3 separate regions of the Homo sapiens genome follow, and all the other regions are linked to region 2. The links are contacts of gene promoters, found by promoter capture Hi-C in blood cells and fetal thymus (Javierre and others, 2016). All regions are on one chromosome and are shown on one strand. The core of a region is centred on a gene start or on the middle of the fragment in contact, and the rest is flanking DNA. Distances in the headings are between cores, read along the strand shown.

Evidence for each region. The method cuts DNA at HindIII sites, captures the fragments that hold promoters and counts their contacts. A CHiCAGO score of 5 or more calls a contact.
Region 1: a fragment that was not itself captured here is called in contact with the fragment with the promoter of SERP1 in region 2 in 2 of 17 cell types (endothelial precursors and megakaryocytes); the score reaches 8.1 in endothelial precursors.
Region 3: a fragment that was not itself captured here is called in contact with the fragment with the promoter of SERP1 in region 2 in 6 of 17 cell types (activated CD4 T cells, naive CD4 T cells, erythroblasts and 3 more); the score reaches 8.7 in activated CD4 T cells.

The regions. Positions count from the first base shown.
Region 1 is chr3:150,225,518-150,229,921 of GRCh38, reverse strand. No RefSeq gene overlaps it. Among named protein-coding and RNA genes, the nearest start is that of LINC01213, 11 kb to the left of the region's middle. The HindIII fragment of the contact is 1,508 bases long and covers 1,985-3,492 here.
Region 2 is chr3:150,544,101-150,548,608 of GRCh38, reverse strand. It overlaps SERP1 (stress associated endoplasmic reticulum protein 1), which reads left to right and starts at 2,113. Exons shown (of 3, transcript NM_014445.4): 1 at 2,113-2,557; 2 at 2,831-2,906; 3 at 4,111-4,508. The coding sequence starts at 2,474. The coding sequence ends at 4,151. EIF2A (eukaryotic translation initiation factor 2A) reads right to left here and starts at 1,822. Exons shown (of 14, transcript NM_032025.5): 1 at 1,779-1,822. The coding sequence starts at 1,806. RefSeq lists enhancers at 1,515-2,054, 1,327-2,526, 1,972-2,602. The HindIII fragment of the contact is 4,802 bases long and covers 1-3,346 here.
Region 3 is chr3:150,865,903-150,870,268 of GRCh38, reverse strand. No RefSeq gene overlaps it. Among named protein-coding and RNA genes, the nearest start is that of MINDY4B, 37 kb to the left of the region's middle. The HindIII fragment of the contact is 8,369 bases long and covers 1-4,366 here.

The DNA.
Region 1 (4,404 bases), core at 1,489-3,988, 320 kb after region 2:
TGTTTGAGCTCCTTATATATTCTGGTTATTAACCCCTTGTCAAATGAATAGTTTGCAGATATTTCCTCTCATTCTATAGGTTGTGTCTTCACTCCATTGGTTGTTTTCTTGCTCTGCAAAAGCTTTCAGCTTGATGTAATCCCATTTGTCTACTTTTGCTTTGGTTGCTTCTGCTTTGAGATCTTACCCAAGAAAATCTTTGGCCAGAACAATGTCCTGTAGAGTTTCCCCAATATTTTCTTCTAGCAGTTTCATAGTTTCAAGTCTTACATTTAACTCTTTAATCCATTTTGATTTGAATTTTGTCTGTTGAGAGATCGAGGTCTAGTTTCATTTTTTGGCATATGGATCTCCGGTTTTCCCAGCACCATTTATTGAAGCAGTTGTTCTTTCCTCAGTAAATGTTTGGTGCCTTGTTGAAAGTCAATTAGCTGTAAATATGTAAATTTATTCCTGGGTTCTCTATTCTGTTCCAGCGGTCTGTGTGTCTGTCTTCATGCCAGTACTATGCTGTTTTGGTTTTGTAGTATGTTTTAAATTCAGGTAGTGTGATGCCTTTAGCAAGGTCCATAGATTTTAATTAGTGCCTTTTAAGTCTCTGAATTTATAGATTATTTCCCTCATTTGTTGAAGAATTCTGGTTATTTTCCCTATGGAGTTTCCCACAGGCTGGACTCTCTGATGATACTCATGGTGTCATTTAACATGTTTCCATGCCCTGTGTATTTCTTGCATACTTTTAGTTAGATCTAAGGCTTGATCAGACTCAGGGCTGATGTCTTGACAAGAATACTTGAAAGATTGTGTTGTACATTTCCAACAAGGCCACATAGTTCTGGCTGGCTCTTTGTGAAGTTAGCAGCCATTCGTGATTGTGTTGTTGTGGATCCACTCAAGAAACAGAAGCCATTCGTTAATTCAAATACTGGAAGTTTCATAAAAAGAACGATTAAGATAAGTGATACGATTTAGCTGTGTCCCCACCCAAAATCTCATCTTGAATTGTAATCCCCATAATCTCCACGTGTCAAGGCAGTGACCAAGTGGAGGTAATTGGATCATGGGGGTGGTTTCCCCCATACTGTTCTTGTGATAGTGAGTGAGTTATCTTGAGATCTGATGGTTTTATAAGCGTCTGGCATCTCCCCTGCTTGCACTCACTCTGTACTGTCACCCCATGAAGAAGGTGCCTGCTTCTCTTTTGCCTTCCACTGTGATTGTAATAATCCTGAGGCCTCCCCAGCAATGCGGAACTGTGAGTCAATTAAACCTCTTTCATTTATAAATTACCCAGTCTCAGGTATGTCTTTATTAGCAGTGTGAGAATGAACTAATACCATAAGATAAGAGAGTACCTATGAAGACATAAAGAGACTCCTGAAGAGTACCCTATGTCTAGGGGAGAGTACTCAAGGAAAAGCAAAACTGGAAGGGGTGGGCTCTTCCCCAAGGCTGCGATTCCAACATTATTGGAGCAGGCAAGCATGTGGCCTACTAGATAGCAGTTAAGTTCACTGGGCTGTCCAGCCAGAGCCGGTCCACAGCCTCCAGGCCAGCAGGAAAGAAACCAATGAGTGCAGGTGCGTTAAGTCTGGGAGGTGAGGCCTCATGTGTGCAATGGGTGGAGGGTCTGGTGTGCAATGCTCATGTTGTGTGGGCCCAGGGAAACAACATCCTGGGGTGCAGGCCAGCTGATGCTGGAAAGCAGTGCCCAGGAAGAGTTGAGACTCCACTGCAGATGTTAATCCACATCCCAAGGACTGAGGTGAGGTTCACTGGGCCGAGTCTGGGGCTCTGAGGTCACTGAGGGACTGTACATTCTGGGTATATGGCTGGGGCAGAGCACCACTGGGTAACTCACACACGCACTGTTGACAGACCATGCAGCTGGAGCAACAAAAAACAAAGGTCAGTACCCTGGAACCAGGAAGAAAAGCCCCCCTTCTCCTACAGTGTCCCTCCAGCGCCCTCTACCGACAAAGCTTCACATCGATCTCACTGTAAAGGGGAAATGCTTGAAGAGTCCATTCCATTACCCCAGAGCAGTTACTGAAGGGTGGATGTGGGGCTGAGAGGCAATAAATTAATAACTGGCATAATGATCAGTGGCTAGGTTCATTATTCATTAGGGGTTGCAAAATGGTGATAATCTAATTCTATCCATCTTCCTACATTAGGTTGGAAGGCTTCTAGTGGGAGAAACTTCCCACATCCCCTCTTTGGTGAGGCCCCAAGGCAAAATGTGCACAAAAACCTGGCTCCCACCCCACTGCCACCACTTTCCCTCTTCTTACCTAGTGTAGATCCTTAGGGTCTTAGTAATTTTTAAATTCACCTTATCTTTAATTCCAGGTCTGATCTGAACTCTACTTCTGGCCTCTTGGCATCTCCTTTTCGCTCTGGTCCAATGCCTAACTTCAGGTCGAAACTATTTTCTTACCACCTCCTGAATCTTGACTCTGCCCATAAATTCCCTGAAGAGAATGTATGGGAAGTGGCACTTCTCATTTACATCTCCTGTAATCCTCGCAAACACCTTATGAGATGGGTGTTATTGTCTGGGTTTTACAGATGGGGAACCCAACTAAGGCTTAGAGAGGTGAAGCAAGGAATGAAGAGCTGGGGTTAGAGCCTGAGGCTGCTCACCTCTGAATTGTGAGAGTTGGAGGCCCAGAAGGACATGCTGCCTTCCGCAGATTCCTCTTCAGGTAACATCAAACTCACATGCCTCCTGGATTCTCACCAGTTCTCTGTTTTTTCCTGAATTTCCAGGTCATTACAAATGTTCTTCACATTGTCTCCTGCTAGCTTCACCACTGAAAACTCCCCATCTCTCTTACAGGATCACTTCCTCCAGTATCCAATCCAGGTCTTTATTTTCAGGCCTGGATTTCTTCTGAAACAGTTGCCTAATGCTATTTAACTGCATTTACTTCCCCACAACTTAATTGCATTTTATTTTCTCTTGTCTCAGATTACTGGGACAGACACCTAAATCCTCTCTAGTTCTGAAGATACTGTTTTTACCTCCTCCATCATCCACTCTCCTGCACTCTCCCTACACAGAGAAGGGAATGAGAATAGAGGTGAGAACTTCTCTTCCCAGAGGTAGGTATGCTACTGGGGGTGGGGGTGGGGGTGGGGGATGGGGTGTAAAGAAGGAAATAAACAACTGCCAGACCTGGCACTGACATTGAAACTCTCTTCATTCTCCACTTCAGAAAACCATGACCCAGCTATGAGGTCTCTATCATTCCAGCTATGTAGAGACAGCTAAAAATCATGGTGAAACCTCCGCTGTCCTTTCTTTCTTCTCCAGTTCATCCTTCCTCATTCAACAACTCACCTGCTACTTTTCCTTTTCTCTCGAGTCATCCCCTCCACCCTACAGTTATAGCTCCCAACTCCTGATCATCCTGAGCCCCTTCCCCTCCATTCCTTCCTCTTGGTCCGTAGCCCCTCTCTTCCTCTTTCCTTCCTCTTACCCAAGCTTCACTGGCAAAATCAAACAACATAACAAAAGAATGGGGAATAAGCAAACAGCTGCCTACCCTTGCTTGGAAGTCCCTGGGAAGCAGCTTCCTTCACCTCCATTGATTCTGAGTCTCTGCGCTTCGGAGTGTTTGGCCCTCGTTCAAGGCTACGGTGGCCATGGACTCATTGTGTTGAGATGAAGGTAAATCCAGGCAGTTTCTTTTTTTAGATGCAATTGTGTTTCTGGAAAAGGCTGCACATCACATAATAGGAAATCCTGAGAGGGTGAAGACTGTTTCCTGCCAGTTGAAGCATTGTTGTCTTTGGCTGTTCTGACAATAGCAGAAACCTTCGAGTAAGGTGGAGGGGCCGGGAGGGAAGAGCTGGCTGCGTTGGGGTAGATGAAGAGTGAACTGCGGAGTCGGGGAAAGTGGAGATTGCCAGGGACAGTGATATAAACTAAGTGAAAGCAAATAAGTTGTAGAACCCTGCCAAAGGATGAAACCAGCCAAGAAAAAAAAAAAAAGAAAAAAAAGAACTCTGATTACTTCGAAAAAATATCTGTCAAAATGCTCTCAGCTAGGGGAAGACATTGTCAGGTTATTATGGGCTTTTTTTTTTTTAATATAAAAAATGGTCCATGAAACAAGTAGGTATCTAATGGATCCTGCTCGGGGATGGTAATGATGACAGTCAGTGATGATGACAATGATGGGGATAGTGATAACTATATTGGAGAAAGTCACAGCTTCATTCATTTAAAATAGAAATGCTCTCTGCTGTAGAATCTTTAGACCTAAAAAAATAGAGGCTCTTTGGGGATCTATGGATAGTTCTGGAGCAGGGGCTTCTCATCTTTTAAGTGCATATGAATTTCCTGGGATCTTGTTAAAATGCAGGTTCTGATTCATACCCTGGGATGAGCCCGAG
Region 2 (4,508 bases), core at 864-3,363:
CTCTAATGCCCCCACTGATCTGACAGGAGGGGAAGCTCAAGTGGTAATGCTTGCCCAGTACCAGTCCGGCCCAGGGGGTTGGGGACCCCTGATTTAGAGTATCTATTGTCTACCAGGCACTGCACTAGTACTGAGAAGACAGATATGAATAAGACCCTGTCGCTGACATTGAAGGACTCACAGTCTAGCAGGGGAGAAAGGCAAGTGAATGTCTAATTATCCTACTTAGTAAGTGAAATAAAATTTCAAATATATTTCAGGTACAAAAATAGCCCAGGAAGTGACTGACTCTATCTGGGTAGAGTGACGAAAGGCTTCACAGAGCAATGATATCTAAAATGAATTTTAATTTCAACAGATGAAAAAGAGTTTGCCAAATCAACAAGAGGCATAGGATAGTACTAGACTGAAGAAACAGGTTGTTCAAAGGGACTCAGAAGCAGTTCAGTATTGATGGAGCACCAAATAAGATGGGATGGCAAGGAAATAAATGAGTCTCAAGAGCAATTCAAAGATTATAAATGGTTACATAACTATGCTACATAGGATGGAATCTACCCTGTAAGCAGAGAGGAACTACCTACTGTAGGCATTTTTAAAGGAGGGGTTATTTATCAGATTTTAGAATGTAATTTTTTCATTAGAGTTCAAATAAGCATTTAGTATTAAAAATTGTGAATAACAAGCTACCTTTACAAACCTAAAAAAAAATTTATTATGTAACTTTGCCTTTTAAACAGTCTTTGCCTGGTATATTATCTAGAAGATTATACTCGGCGTTTGATAAATGATGACTAAACTGCAGAAGACAGACTGAGCATCAGTGGGCATGGCGCTTAATAACAAAGATTTTAAAATGTAAAAATAGAAATGTAGACTGGCAAAAAGTGCAAAAATGTTTTAAGGTTCCTTTCGCGGGGGGGAAGGGAGGGAATAGCCTCCCTCCTTAAATGCAGACAACCTTTCTCTTAATGACTTTTTCCTTCTATATAGTTATCAGAACTTAACCAAAACCTTCTTTTCCTTCCCGACTCTCTTTTCCTTACGTAATACTCATATGCAGACTCTTAGCCACACCCTAGTAAAGCAACTTCCCCAGCATTTTCCAATCTAAGTTTATTATCTCCTCCAACACTACAGTCTTTAGCTTCAAAATTTCAAGAGTCCTCTAATGTTCTATTTCTAATATGCTCATAACCATTTCAAAATCAAATGTTGCTAGAATATCTCTATCATGCTCACTGCTACACCCTCTCCCAACCACACCTTCATCATTTGAAACCTGCATTACAGCTCCACTCTCCCTATTCAGTCCTACAAACCTCATTAAGGCAGGAAGGCCAGAATCTGGAATTACTTAAGTCCAGGTGTATTTAAAGTGCGTGATCATTCTAGAGGACTAACTCATGTTTGTCTTTGTTCTTATTGTAGACCTAAATGACTTCACAAGGGCCCGTGTAACACCAGTATTGCAGACCCATGTGTCACAAATTCAACTAGCACATTGTTTTTCTCCCCCTTCTTCTATTTCTGTAGAAGATGAATCCGCAGGCAAGAATGATGGATGGGTGAAAGGGAGGGGGAATACGAAAGCCCAGAGGCGGAGACTTCACTTCCGATTGCCACGCTATATCAAGAAAGCCAACAGTCTGGCCTTTCCGCAAGCCACAAGAAAAGGCAGATCAGACTCCCCGGCTCCTCGGGTAGTTCTCAAAGGCAAAGACAAAAATAAGAAACTAGTCTGAAGAAAGAGAGTCCCTCGCTTCTTCAGAACTCACCTGTCAAGAGCGGCGTGGACGGCGCCATGTTGTCCCGGAAAGAGAAACCGCTCGGGTGAGAGTTCACCAGGGCCGAACCCGGCCCCTACACGTCTCCTCATGCGTGGAGACAGCGAATTGGTGTTTCCGGAGCCATCAGCCTCGGGGCCAATTCACTTCCGGTTACGGAGTGACGCGGAAAAGGCGCCCAAACGCGCACGCGCAAATCTAGGGCGACGCTTGACAGAGCTTGGGAGGGTGCGCCTGCTTTCGCCCTCCTTCTCCAGCGGGAGGGGCGCGCACTTCCGCGGGGCGGAGTCCGTCTAGTGCTGACGTTGGCAGCCGAACCCAAAGTAGATCGAGGCGGCGGGCTGCACATTCCCGTTGTTGCGTTGCGTTTCCTTCCTCTTTCACTCCGCGCTCACGGCGGCGGCCAAAGCGGCGGCGACGGCGGCGCGAGAACGACCCGGCGGCCAGTTCTCTTCCTCCTGCGCACCTGCCCCGCTCGGTCAGTCAGTCGGCGGCCGGCGCCCGGCTTGTGCTCAGACCTCGCGCTTGCGGCGCCCAGGCCCAGCGGCCGTAGCTAGCGTCTGGCCTGAGAACCTCGGCGCTCCGGCGGCGCGGGCACCACGAGCCGAGCCTCGCAGCGGCTCCAGAGGAGGCAGGCGAGTGAGCGAGTCCGAGGGGTGGCCGGGGCAGGTGGTGGCGCCGCGAAGATGGTCGCCAAGCAAAGGATCCGTATGGCCAACGAGAAGCACAGCAAGAACATCACCCAGCGCGGCAACGTCGCCAAGACCTCGGTAAGGAAAGAGCGGGCGCCCCTCTGCGTTCCGCAGCCGGAGCTGAGTCCGGGTCCCTGGGGCCGCGTCGCGTTTTCTCCCGGATCCGGCCGACCGTGGGCTGGTGCCGTGGAGGGGTAGGGGCCCGAGTCTGCGAACCGCCAGACTGTGGGGGCTCGGGAACGGAAGGGGAGACCTGTGAGGTGAGGGGGCCGGCGACCGGCGTGCAGGCGTGGGAGCCTGGGGTCCGAGTGGTTTCTCTGCATCTGAAATGGTGGATTTTCGCTTTTGCAGAGAAATGCCCCCGAAGAGAAGGCGTCTGTAGGACCCTGGTTATTGGCTCTCTTCATTTTTGTTGTCTGTGGTTCTGGTAAGTGGCTTGGGGGCTCCCATCAGGTAGAGTCTTGGGTTGAAAGGATTTGGGATGACGTGGTGACCGGTCAGTAGTGAGTCCTACCTGCGTAGTTCTCAACCCACCTGCCGAGGACTCCACATAATTCTGTTTCGTCTGAACCAAATTACTTGTTCCACATATGCACAGAGGGTGGTGCTCCAGAAACTTCTCCCAGCTTAATTTGTACTCACAGGAGATCAAAAAGGAGGTCAGGTCTTGGTAATGATCCAGTTGGAATAAATGTTAAGACCGGACAAAACCTAACGAAATGAGAATTTAGAATGTTTTGTAACTCCATTATCAGTCTTTGCAAAGAAAATTATAAATATGTACTATAGATGTTAGAACTTGATTTAACATATACCAGAATCTAATGTCTTAATGTCAAAATTGAGTATATTTTATAAAATAAAGCTTGTGCAAAGAATTGATTCACTATAGAGGAAATTACCTGATTGGCATTTTAATGTGTGAGTCAAATGTTTTTAGGTTAATAAAAGAAACGTTTGATACATGGTTTAAAAAAAAAGTGTCGGGGTAGCCTGCTGTCCCCTAAGAGTAACAGACACTTGCCTTTGCAAATAGATTACAAAAAAAAGGTCTTTCCTCTCTTCATTTATCATTTTAATATGCAAGCTGTTAATATTGAAGTAGATGTTTGTTTTCCACATTCTAAAATTACTGAGATTTCTGTTTAACGTTTCACTTTGCCTTTCTTCTTCACTTACCAATTGGAAGCTTTCCTGATAAATGGATGAGAGCCAAGCAGTTTATATAACCTGAAGATGATTGAATTTCAGCTTTGTGAGAATGAGGAAACATGCATGTGTTACAGGCCAGGCCTTAAAAGGATGCTTATAAACCAAAATAATTCTATGCTGGAAAAACCTGTTGGCTTTGGTGCTTTAAGTTCTTTGTAAAATGATTACTTATCTGCAAGTTCTCTTGGATACTTAGACATAAAGTTCAGCGAAGCTAAGATAAAAAAATAACTCAGGGATATTTCATTGTTTTATTTATTCAGACAGGCCTGTCTTCACTTCTTATTATACTGAAGTTATGTACCATTTGCAAATGTAAGAGTACCTTTGGATTCTTCAGCTACCTTAATAAATATTTGTTAGACACCAGACCTATTTTATTCAAAGCTTATTTTAATATTTGCTCTTTCTTTTTACAGCAATTTTCCAGATTATTCAAAGTATCAGGATGGGCATGTGAAGTGACTGACCTTAAGATGTTTCCATTCTCCTGTGAATTTTAACTTGAACTCATTCCTGATGTTTGATACCCTGGTTGAAAACAATTCAGTAAAGCATCCTGCCTCAGAATGACTTTCCTATCATGCTTCATGTGTCATTCCAAGGTTTCTTCATGAGTCATTCCAAGTTTTCTAGTCCATACCACAGTGCCTTGCAAAAAACACCACATGAATAAAGCAATAAAATTTGATTGTTAAGATACAGTAGTGGACCCTACTTATTCAGTCAATTAAGAGTAAGTTTTTTTATGTGGTTATTAAAACAGTATGAACAATTAGTCTAACTCTGCATAGACAGGGTCTAGATTTTGTTAACC
Region 3 (4,366 bases), core at 1-2,500, 320 kb before region 2:
TTTCCCTGTCCTGTTAAATGCCTATGTTCTTTCTGAAGAGATACACAGAGTAAACACATATTCCTTCTAAAAGAAGTACACGAGAATAATGTAGACACCGCCAGCCACCCCGCTAATCTGCCACCTCACAGACTTAGGGCACTGTATTCACAATCCCAAGGTTAGTTTCCAAAGAACAATCTTTCTGCATTCATTCAAATTCATTTATTAAATGCATTTGCATTTGGCTCAAAGAATAATGTTTTAACTTAAGGACCATGTAGGAAATGAAACTTCAAGGTGAATAATAAATTATGTCAGAAGAGAAAGGCAATTAGGCTTGAATTGCGGATTATAGTATCTTTATCATTGGTGTTTTCACTGGGGATTTTAAATACACTGGACAAATAAGTGGATCCCTACAGACTTTGGGCTTATGTGGTCTTAATCTTACTTACATTGTGCTTTTCCTGAGGTGCGGGCCTGTTTTTTGTTTTATGGACACTACATTGTTTCTTACTGAATGTCTCTTTTGGAGTTGACTGCTTAGAGCTGAATTAAAAAACACACCAGTGCATTAGTAAGGAACTGCTCAGCTGCAAGTAAGAGATCTCACGAAAAGTCGCAAACAATAAAGATATTCCTTTTAACAAGAGCTGTCTAGCTAGGGGATCCATGACTCAGATCATCATGGTTCATCCTCTGAGTCTGAGAACAGGGCACTTGATATTAGAACAAAATCAGGGTTTTGTAGAAGGAAGAAAAGCAGGATGACTGTCGGGTAGTGTATCGGTCCTTACAAAAGCCAACTTTTAAATTGACCTCATTCTTGTATCCATTTTATGTTCCTTCCCTTATTCCTCCTTTGAATTTTTAATTTGTTTATAATTTATGTTAGTTTGCCATATTTTATATGGTATTGTAATTTGGGTTAAATTATTCCTGGAACAAGTCTATAAATAAGTAAAATAATGGAGGAAAGATTAAGTACCTACGTTTTAGATGTAAAAGTATAATTTTGATATATAAAACTATTAATTACTTTGTATATCAATGTTCAGTGAAAATAAGTTATTTTATCTTATAAACAGGGTACCCGGTAATACTTGATTTTTTTCTTCAGAGTGGAGACATGTTATTTAAAAATAACTGGAAGTGGCTGGGCGCGGTGGCTCACGCCTGTAATCCCAGCACTTTGGAAGGCCGAGGTGGGCGGATCACGAGGTCAGGAGATCGAGACCATCCTGGCTAACACGGTGAAACCCCATCTCTACTAAAAATACAAAAAATTAGCCAGGCGAGGTGGCGGGCACCTGTAGTCCCAGTTACTCAAAAGGCTGAGGCAGGAGAATGGCGTGAACCCAGGAGGCGGAGCCTGCAGTGAGCCGAGATCACGCCACTGCACTCCAACCTGGGCGACAGCGAGACTCCGTCTCAAAAAAAATAAAATAAAATAAAATAAAAAAATAAAAATAACTGGAAGTTTCTCAGAGCCATTAGTTCACTTTTAAACTTTGTTTTGAGAAAAATGACTTTTTTTTCAGCTTCTCAAATACAAAGCAGAAGAAAGCTGTTTGCTTGAAGACGGGGATATTAATTTTTCTGACTAGTCATCTAAACTGACTGTGTCTTTAGTGGGAATGAACCCTTGAGGCGATGGCAACTATTTTCCTCTTTCAAATATCAACTTAGACTGGAACATTCCCCCGAATTATTGTTTGCTCTTAGACAAGATGTGTGAATCATTTTTCCAAGAACATTCTCACCAATGTCACAAGACCCGTAGGAGCAGGCCAGGTTGGGGGAGGCCTAAGATTCCCTTCACTTCACACTGTGGAAATAACCCTGAATAGCAACTGGCTGAGACTGGACCTGAGCTGTCCAGGCTGTGGGCACTCTTCAGCCACACCTGGGCCTGCATTTTCTGTTAATGGTTGTAATTCCCTTGTCAGGGCCTTAGAGACATAATCATTCATTCATTCATTCATTCAATGTTTTTTATTTTATTTTTATTTTTATTTTTGAGATGGAGTCTCACTCTGTCGCCCAGGCTGGAGTGCACTGGTGTGACCTTGGCTCACTGTAACCTCCACCTCCCGGGTTCAAGCGATTCTTGTGCCTCAGCCTCCCAAGTAGCTGGGACTACAGGTGCACACAACCACTCTGGCTAATTTGTTTGTATTTTTTGGTAGAAATTGGGTTTCACCATGTTGGCCAGGCTGGTCTTTAACTCATGACCTCAAGTGATCTGCCCGCTTGGCCTCCCGAAGTGCTGGGATTCAGGCATGAGCTACCATGCCTGGCCATTCAATGTTTTTTAACATGCCCTATGTGCCAGGCACTATGCTTGATGCTGGGGAAAATCAGCACAGCGAGCAAAATCAGATGTGGCACACCCTCTTTTCTTATGAAACTTAGGCTCTTCTGAGGAGATGGCAATTAATCAAAAAGCACTTTAATAAAGATAAACTTGAAAACTAAGGGAAGAGATTTTGGGTGCGTCAATCTTATAATAAAGAACTGAAAGAAAAGGAAAAGGCATGTCTGAGGAAGAGATGGTTAGCTGAAGTAAGAAGGCTGCATAGAGATAACAGGGTAAGGGGAAGAAGGGCAAGCAGATGTGAAGCCCTGTGGTGAATGCGCCTGAGGAACAGAAAAGCCTGTGGGGCTAAAGAGTGGTTGTGAAGCAGCTGGAGCAAAAGGTGGGGCCACCGCAAGGCAGTGTAGACTATAAGGTGTGAGAAACCTTGGAAAGGTTTTAAGTGGCCTGGTAAGATTTGCATTTTGAACACATGCCTCAGAGTAGAACATGGATTGGAGAGAGCCCCAAGTGCATGCAGAGACCAGTTAGGCATGCGGAGACTAGTTAGTTAGGCAGTGGTGTGGACAAGAGATGGTCAGAACAGAATGGAGGCAATTAAAGTAGACTGAAGTGGGCCTCTCAGGAGACACCTCTTGGTAGGTAAAATGGAGAAGGCTGAAATAGGTTGCATGGGGAGGGAGATGAGGAAGAAAGAAAGAAGGATCAAGGATGACTTCTAGGTTTCTGATTTGATAACTGGATGGAAGGTTGTACCTTCACAGAACTTGGAAACACTCAAAACATACCAGATTTTGAGGGCAAGAAATCACACATCTAGTCTTAGACATGAAACATTCAAGTGGAAAGGTAGATTAATGGATCAGAAATAAGGATCTGGAAATCAATGGAGAGGTTTGGACCAGAGAAATAAATACACCTGGGAGTCACTAAGGGTAAGTAACATGGTGGCCTGGGGTAAGACTGCCCAAGGAGAGTATGAAGCAAGAAGATAGCTGGGCCTAATGCTGAGCCCTTAGGAATTCTCGTGTCAGCAGTCAGGCAGTGTGCGAAGAGCCTGGAAAGCAGGCGCAGAAGAAATAGCCAGAGACAGAGGAGAAAAATGAGAATTGAACTGTGTCTAGAAACCATGCCCTGTAGGTAAGGGCAGGCATTTCTTCCATCAATCATCGTGGGAACAGGAAGGAGGACGCCTAAGGAGAGGGAAGAAAGGCTCTCCCCACCCTAATGCTGCTGCCAGAGCTGGGAGCCTTGCACAGGGCCTGGACCAACATTTAGGGAACACAGCCAAGTGACAGAGAACGGCAAGTTGTCAGAAGTCCAAGGGGCTTCTTAAAGCAGAGACACGATCAGGAGAAGTAACATTTTAGGTTTTCCTGCATTGTAATTCCTTTGTGTTTAAATTAAGATGTTAAACATTCTAGCCTGATATTCCCTGTGCTTTGTTTGGGAAATTAAGAGAGGGATCTGCTTCACATGTAGAGACACTTTCTAACACCTGGAGAAGCCAGTCTTGTGAAGGAAAGAGGTCTCCTGAGAAGCCCAGAGCAATAGAACAGGATAGAATGATGAGCTAAGGTGTGAGGAAAATGACGCCAGCAAAAAAGCGCAACAGAGAAAACCAAATCAGATTCAAGATGGCGGCAAGAAAAGCCCAGTCTCAAAAAAAAAAAAAAAAGGGAAAAAGAAGGGCTGGGCGCAGTGGCTCACACCTGTAATCCCAGCACTTTGGGAGGCTGAGGCGGGTGGATCATGAGGTCAGGAGTTCCAGACCAGCCTGGCCAAGATGGTGAAACCCCGTATCTGCTAAAAATACAAAAATTAGCCAGGCGTGGTGGTGGGCACCTGTAATCCCAGCTACTCGGGAGGCTGAGGCAGAGAATTGCTTGAACCCGGGAGGCGGAGGTTGCAGTGAGCCCAGAACGCACCACTGCACTCCAGCCTGGGCGACAGAGTGAGACTCCGTCTCGGAAAAAAAAAAAAAAAGAAAAAAGAAAAGCCCAGTCTCAGAGGATGCAATTCTAGGTGAGTTCGGAACTTAAGTGAGGAATTAAGATAAATCCATTT